Regions from separate parts of the Homo sapiens genome. Here all the other regions are linked to region 3. Evidence: promoter capture Hi-C in human tissues and cell types (Jung and others, 2019). All regions are on one chromosome and are shown on one strand. The core of a region is centred on a gene start or on the middle of the fragment in contact, and the rest is flanking DNA. Distances in the headings are between cores, read along the strand shown. Region 1 has its middle 10 kb from the start of GLDC. Region 2 overlaps UHRF2 (ubiquitin like with PHD and ring finger domains 2). Region 3 holds the start of MLANA (melan-A).

The links. Contacts are between HindIII fragments. The study calls those that stand out against the background at their distance.
Region 1: a fragment that was not itself captured here is called in contact with the fragment with the promoter of MLANA in region 3 in 1 of the 25 tissues and cell types used here (heart left ventricle).
Region 2: a fragment that was not itself captured here is called in contact with the fragment with the promoter of MLANA in region 3 in 2 of the 25 tissues and cell types used here (dorsolateral prefrontal cortex and spleen).

What each region holds. Positions count from the first base shown.
Region 1 is chr9:6,654,863-6,657,562 of GRCh38, reverse strand. No RefSeq gene overlaps it. Among named protein-coding and RNA genes, the nearest start is that of GLDC, 10 kb to the right of the region's middle. RefSeq lists enhancers at 447-546, 481-987. The HindIII fragment of the contact is 4,863 bases long and covers 1-2,700 here.
Region 2 is chr9:6,436,664-6,439,363 of GRCh38, reverse strand. The region is part of intron 3 of UHRF2 (ubiquitin like with PHD and ring finger domains 2); the gene reads right to left. Among named protein-coding and RNA genes, the nearest start is that of UHRF2, 25 kb to the right of the region's middle. The HindIII fragment of the contact is 5,119 bases long and covers 1-2,700 here.
Region 3 is chr9:5,889,595-5,892,294 of GRCh38, reverse strand. MLANA (melan-A) reads right to left here and starts at 1,406. Exons shown (of 5, transcript NM_005511.2): 1 at 1,359-1,406. LOC124902341 (small nucleolar RNA U13) reads right to left here and starts at 2,145; the gene lies at 2,039-2,145. It also overlaps a transcript of BRD10 not described here. The HindIII fragment of the contact is 14,558 bases long and covers 1-2,700 here.

The DNA.
Region 1 (2,700 bases), core at 19-2,518, 770 kb before region 3:
AGATGCCCACCACCATGCCCGGCTAGTTTTTGTATTTTTAGTAGAGACGGGGGTTTCACCATGTTGGTCAGGCTGGTCTCGAACTCCAAGCCTCAGGTAATCTGCCCGCCTTGGCCTCCCAAAGTGCTGGGATCACAGACATGAGCCACCAGGCCTGGGGGTAAAAAATTTAAATATAAATAAAGTTTCAAGGAAAAGAGCTAGAACCAAAAAAAGAGTATTTTCTATTGGATCTATAGAAAGAGCAGTACCTATTATTTATGCGTGAAACTTACAATTTGAATGAGACAGTTCAGAGCCATGGGGTTGTGTTGAGTCACCGGCCAGCTGTACATTAAAATCCTGATACACACACACACAAACACACAAAGTAATAGCCAGGTGTGGAAGCAAATGCTCTATGCACATTGCCCGTGTGTCCTTAACAGTAAATTAGTGGCCTCTGGGCTTTGAATCAGTCTTTGGCTTTCTGTCCTTTCACAATCCTGTGCTGGTCAATGAGATACTTGAAGGCAGGTCCTCCTCTAGTGCATTTTCTCTACCACCTGTGACCACAGTTATCTTTTCGAATCTGCCTTTCCTCTTTAATTGTAATAAACGAAGAAGTATCTACTTCATAAATTTGCTCTTCGATAAATCCAAGGACTCTAGCTGGACACTCACAGGGCCAGTTAAGAGCTGAGTGGATTTTCTCTTTAAAGGAAGTCATACTGAGTTGTTAATGAGGCTTGGCATGGCAGTAATTGCTTTCAAAGGAGAAACTAGTTAACACAAATGTATCTTTAATTAGCTTATAGTGGGAAGTGATATTTTTGGACAGGGCCCCTGTATCCCTCCATTCCCTCCTTCCCCACTTCACACTTAGCCAGCCAGGAAAGAATATTAAGGTACCAACCTTGCATCTAAATCCTTTATAATTCTGCTTCTCTTGGGAAAGAAAGTATCACCTGGGAGCTAGTCCTGCTTGGCTGTTTTATTAGGAATCCAGAATCTGCATATGTCATATCTCATCTTTAGTAAAAGAATCTGAGAGGTCACAGCATGGCATTAAACCTAGTGCAATAACATTGACATTCATATAGAAACTTCACTTCTGGCTGGGTGCGGTGGCTCACGCCTGTAATCCCAACACTCTGGGAGGCTGAAGCAGGCAGATCACTTGAGGTCAGGAGTTTGAGACCAGCCTGGCCAACATGCTGAAACCCTGTCTCTACTAAAAATACAAAAATAAGGCCGGATGCAGTGGCTCACACCTGTAATCCCAGCACTTAAAGGAGGCCGAGGCTGGCGGATCACCTGAGGTTGGGAGTTCGAGACCAGCCTGACTAACATGGAGAAACCCCGTCTCTACTAAAAATACAAAATTAGCTGGGCGTGGTGGCACATGCCTGTAATCCCAGCCACTTTAGGAGGCCCAGGTGGGCAGACTGCTTGAGCCCAGGAGTTCAAGACCAGCCTCCGTCTTGCTCCATCACTAGGCTAAAGTGCAGTAGTGTGATTGTGGCTCAAGCAATCCTCCCACCTCAGCCTCTCCAGTTTCAGGGACCACAGGCACATGCCACCACACCTGACTAGTTTTCGCCTTTTTCATCCATGTCTCTGCAAGGACATGAACTCATTCTTTTTTATGGCTGCATAATATTCCATGGTGTACATATTATTAAGTCAAGAACTTTCACCTTTTCACTTAAAGGAAGTGCTTTACAGCTTCTCTGTGGCATATCCAAATTGCCAGCATCACTATTCTGAAATTTTGGGCCATTATTAAGTAAAACACAACACTGCAATATCCTGATGGTCAATCTGAGAATGGGACAACTGAGAAAGCTACGAAGTGACTGAGGGTGCACAGCATAAACAGCATGGATACACTGGACGAAGGGATGAATCACATCCCAGGCGCGATGGGGCAGGACAGTGTGAGATTTTGTCATGCTCCTTGGAACAGCATGTAGCTTAAAACTTATGAACTGTTGGCTGGGCACGGTGGCTCATGCCTGTAATCCCAGCACTTTGGGAGGCTGAGTCGGGTGGATCACCTGAGGTCAGGAGTTCGAGACCAGCCTGACCAACATGGAGAAGCCCTGTTTCTACTAAAAATACAAAATTAGCCGGGCATGGTGGTGCATGCCTGTAATCCCAGCTACTCAGAAGGCTGAGGCAGGAGAATCGCTTGACTCCGGGAGGCGGAGGTTGTGGTGAGCTGAGATCGCGCCACTGTACTACAGCCTGGGCAACAAGAGTGAAACTGTGTCAAAAAACAAAAAAACAAAAAAAAACCCAACAACTTATGAACTGTTTATTTCTGGAATTTTCCATTTATGGTTTCAGAAGGTGGTTAACTGCAGGTAACTGAAACCATGAAAAGCGAAACCACAAATAAGGGGGTCTACGGTACTCTTCCTCAGGGGCAGTCTGTGTATTGCAGCACCTTCAGTTGTTACTATGAAAGCCCTGCTGGTGCTGTAGTTAAGTTTTGGAAACAGGGTGTGTTCTATAATGTTCCAATTAAATACTGGTGTTTTCACAGCCCTCTGTCTTGGGCTATGAACTTCACAATTGTTTTTCCAGTGATATAGTTCCTTTCTCTTCTGTCCTGTGTTCTCTGGCTGCAGAGTCGCTGGTTGATTTCCTCTCAGCCCTGACCCGTTTATTCTGTTTTCTTTTATTTTTCCTTCATTATGTAAGACAAGAAGGCTG
Region 2 (2,700 bases), core at 142-2,641, 550 kb before region 3:
CATCTCTACTAAACACAAAAATTAGCCGGGCGTGGTGGTGCACATCTGTGTCTCAGGAGGCTGAGACAGGAGAATCGTTTGAACCCGGGAGACAGAAGTTGCAGTGAGTCAAGATCACACCACGGCACTCCAGCCCAAGCCATAGAGCAGGGCTGTCTCAAAGAAACAAACAAAAAACAATTCAGCCTATGTTCACCAAGAAATCTATAGAAAAGGACCATTTACAAGCAACTAGTAAAACTCAAATTTTAAAACATTTCAAATCTCTTAACATAACCTGTTTTTCATAAACTTAGTGTTTGTATCTGTAATTTTTGAAGGAATAGTGGAGATAAATTAGGAAACAAATTATTTCAGTTATATTTTAGAATTACATCTTCTACTATATCTTAAATTTTTTTGGTTTGGTGTTTGAAACTCCTCTACCTAAGAAGAAACATCATAAATCTATAATGGCTATCATTCCTCATAGACTAAAGATTGTTTTTAACTCTGCTCTGACTGGAGTAGAAGTTGAAAATGCAAGAGAATAGCTATTTATCTTGGCCTAATTCAGCAACGAATTCTGTTTTAATGAAGCTTCATTTCAAAGACTGATAATCTGGTCTAGTAATCTATTAGATACGTAGATTACTATAAAAAACAGCTTTTAAACAGCTCCATTTTAACTGACAAACATTGCATACCCCAGAATAATTCCAGAGGCAGGTTTCTTTCATCTCATGTACAATACATCTCCCTGCTTTTGCTAAATGACAGCTTGTTCAAACTACACTGCTACACTCAAGAGGTTTGCAGACACAATTGTGCACAGGTTTGCCAAATAATGCTTATCACTCTAGGAGAAAAATGAAAAAGTAGTTCTTTGAGAGAAATACCATAAAGCCATAAATGCAATGGGATGGTAACCTATAAGCACTTAAAGCCTATTTAGTTAAAGTACAAAAATGTGACTTTGAGAGACACTGGCTTAGAGGTAAAAATGACATGCTGTCATTACAGGTCATCTAATACAATTACTAACTTCATAGATTCTCTTTGCAGTGCATCATCTCCAATAAGTCTTCCCATCTATGGTTGAAAATGGCCAATGCTAGTTTACTGGCTACTTCTCAAGGCAGACCATTCTCCATCTTCAGAGATATTTGACTGGTAGGAAGTTTAGGTTATCCTGAAACTTCCCTTCTGTGTTATACAGAAATCTCTTCTAAGAGCTTTTACAATATGGGAACAATCATAATCCAGGTCTTTCAAGCTAAGTATTTAGTTTTTTTGGCTACTCTTCACTGTAGTTTTACATTTTGAGTCCTACTCTGAACATGCACCAGGTCCTGATGGTATTGTTTTTAAGGCATGAGAGCTGGAGGACAATATTCCTAGTAGGGAATAGCCAGTCCAGTACAACAGCAGCATCATCTGGTTTGTACTAGGTATCTTACTTCTAATGAAACTAGCCGGGTGCGGTGGCTCACACCTGTAATCTCGCACTCTGGGAGGCTAAGGTGGGTGTTTGAGATCAGGAATTCAAGACCACCTTGGCCAACGTGGTGAAACCCAGTCTCAACTAAAAATACAAACATTAGCCAGGTGTGGTGGTGCATGCCTATAATCCTAGCTTCTTGGGAGGCTGAGGCACGAGAATTACTTGAAACCAGGAAGTGGAGGTTGCAGTGACCTGAGATCGCACCACTGCACTCCAGCCTGGGCCACAGTGCAAGACTCTGTCTCAAAAATAAATAAATAAAATAAAGCAAAACAGATTTACAGCATAACTATATGACAACCACATTCTATCGACTCACTTGGAGCTTACTACTCAATAAAAAAATCTGGCCAGGTGCAGTGACTCATACCTGTAATCCCAGCACTTTGGGAGGTTGAGGTAGGTGGATCACCTGAGGTCCAGAGTTCAAGACCAGCCTGACCAACACGGTGAAACCCCGTATCTACTAAAGATACAAAAGTTAGCCAGGCGTGGTGGCAGGCACCTGTCATCCCAGGTACTCATGAGGCTGAGGCAGGAGAATCGCTTGAACCTGCAAGGCAGAGGTTGCAGCGAGCCGAGATCGTGCCACTGCACTCCAGACTGAGCAACAGAACGAGACTCTGTCTAAAAAATAATAATAATAAAATAAAAAATCTGCTTATTACTACTGTTAGGCTATACCAGCTTTCTTCAATGCATCCTCCATTCAAAGAAGAACTTGTTTGATGACTTACTGAAATCAACATGTACTTCATTATATTTTATAATTCATTTTTCTAATGATCACAAAGAATGAAACTTTAACATGCTTTGTATCACAACCATATCGGGCTCATAATGATTCTTTTATCCAGGAGCTTATTTATGTTATACATCTCATATTTTATATAGTCCTTTCCTCTTTTTAAAGAGGTGACATTTACCTGTTACTAAGCTTCTGTTATCTTTCATTTTTCAAAGAAAGTTCAGCTATCGTATCTTTAAGTTGCCAGCATTGAAACATTTAATTCCATCACGTAAAATTATTTAGGGCAGGTAATTTTAGTCTTTTCACACATGTTGGATTTAGATTCCCCTTTACTTAACATTCATTCTAACTGACAAAAAAAGTTGCCAAATATATGCTAAGGTACTGTGTTTTGTGCTCTAAGATACACCAAACTGAAGGGTAGGTCCTATCCATTGGATAGTCTTACTTCAAAAGCAACTTTAAG
Region 3 (2,700 bases), core at 157-2,656:
CATTCATATCAAGGGCTTTAGCAATAGCTCAGGTTTCTAACCCCTCCTACTAACTGAAAATTAAGTTCAAAGAAGAAACTACAAACAAAAGCAAAAAAGACTTGCAAGTTGAGTTATTATTTGGTGAAAAAATATTCCTCATTTGCCTTCAATTTGACTCTGCACCATAAACTTCTAGAGAAACAAACAAAATGCATTTTCACTGATTCTCCACCTTCCCTGGCCCAGGGCTGTGGCTAACAAAATTAGAGGAGTTATTTTTCTCCAAAGTTATTGTTGGATATCAATCCCACAGACAAACAGAGGCTATGATACATAACGTGTGTTTCCCAGAGCACCCGTTGCCTGTGCCTCGCGAGGGTGCATGAGGTTGAGCACTGAGCACAACATCTTCCAGCCCAGCTTTTCAGCAAAGGAAACCACCCCACACAGGGGCTTCAGCCTGTCCCCAGGCACTCCACCCAAAACAAGCCGAGGAAGCCCAGGACCTGACTTTATCTAACAATGTGTTTCCCTTCCTACTTAAGTCAATTTCTGCTTCTCTCTGGTTCAAGTCCCTTGGCTAGGATTCTTTTTTTTTCTAACTATAACACATACAAATGAACAACAAAAAATATCCATAAACTGCAGTGGCCGTAATTCAAGTACGCTCATTAAAAACCAATAATGGAAGCTCCTTTCCTTATTATTGTGTATTTTTCTGCTCTCTTACTGTCCTCATGAATTTCAAAGGTGTGATCCCCATAGAATTATATTAATGAGCCCCAGTTTAAAACAACAGGGAGAGGTGAGACAGAAGAGTGGGGATTTCGACACATGACCCCTTTCCACTGGGACATTTTATGTGTAATTTGCCCTTCCCAGTTGTAAAAAAGAAATGAAAGTCAAACTCACCAGTCCTCTCAAGTGAATAATATAGGACTGAACCCTGTGTTCAAAATGACAGAATGGAATCTTAATTCTTCATTAAATTGTTTTAATACATCCCATACCTCAAACTCAGAGCCTTGGCAAATGGTGCAGCAACAGCAAATGCGCCTCTTACTACTCAGACCAGGAGAAGTGGTTCTTTAAGTGACAGGAGAACACATCTACCTCAGGGAGGCTGCTTCTCCCCAGCAAGATGCCATCCTGAATAATTGCTTTTCTTCTTGGTAGTGTTGGAGGACTGAGAGAGGATTCAGGAGGAGGCTTTGTGAGCCCTCTGAGGTTGGAGACTGACAAACGTTGCGGAGAAATTCTGTTGATGTCACACATCAGCGGGGCAATGAGGGTAGGCAGAGGACTTAGCCAGAATTTCCCAAATCCTATTCTGGGAGAAGAGGACTATGATTATGGCGAGAAGGCAACGCTCTTACCTTCCTTAATGAGAGTCCTCTGTCTGCTGGCTGGCCGCGTGTATGAAGACTGCTTCTCTGGCTCTTAATCGTTTTGACTTATTTTTTTTCCTGGTTTTGAGTCCCATGATAGTCACGGGTTTAGATTTCTGACGGGGTCGTCTGTAATTGCTAAATTGGCATGAAAGAAACCAACTTTATTCCTTCCTTCAAAAAGTCACAGCTGACTGTGGCCTCTGTTTTCCCCAGTCCCAGTGCTCTATCCTAGGGAAGCCATTTATTTTAAATGTTGGTCCCTCCTCCATAGGATTGCCATGTCACATAAAATATGACATGAGCCTAGTTATAATGATTTAAAATTCATGGTCCGACACCACAATTACTTTTGCACCAACCTAATTGATGTCTAAGTAGGTCATATTCTACCTGCAAAAAGAAAATTTCATCTATCCCTTTCACATAGATGGAAACCCACTATCTCCAGTGGACAGTTAACACCAAAGGCATCACAGAGAACTCATGGAGCTCAGCTGAGGAGGATGCCCAGTTAAATTTGAACTTCAGATAAACAATGAACAGTTTCTTAATACAACTATGTCCCATACAATATTTTTAGGATAAATATGTCCACATATTCTATGGGACATATACACTAAAAGAGTTATTTTTTGTTTATCTGAAATCCACATTTGTTTTTCTCATGTCAGATAGGTAAGGTGCCCATGTCATTGTAACAAGGTTTGAGGGAGGCATATCTCACACGTGAACATGGAAACCCAATCATCACGCTTATGACCCACAAAAGGATCTGAAATCCAAACTAAACTGGGTTCCCTATTCCCTCCCTCATCTCCATCTCAAAGGGTTGAAGAGTCTTTAGGCACAGGTCTGGAGAGCATCTAGTCCCAGACTCTCATAATCAAGAAAAGGAAATAGAAAAATCCCTGAAACCTCCTCAGCTGAGCTCCATGAGTTCTCTGTGATGCCTTTGGTGTTAACTGTCCACTGGAGATAGTGGGTTTCCATCTATGTGAAAGGGATAGATGAAATTTTCTTTTTGCAGGTAGAATATGACCTACTTAGACATCAATTAGGTTGGTGCAAAAGTAATTGCGGTGTCGGACCATGAATTTTAAATCATTATAACTAGGCTCAAACACATTTTTTTTTTCTGAGATGGAGACTCACTCTGTCGCCCAGGCTGGAGTGCAGTGGCAGGATCTCAGCTCACTACAACCTCTGCCTCCCAGGTTCAAGCAATTCTCCTGCCTCAGCCTCCTGAGTAGCTGGGACTACAGGTGCACGCCACCACACCTGGCAAATTTTTGTATTTTTAGTAGAGACAGGGTTTCACCATGTTGGC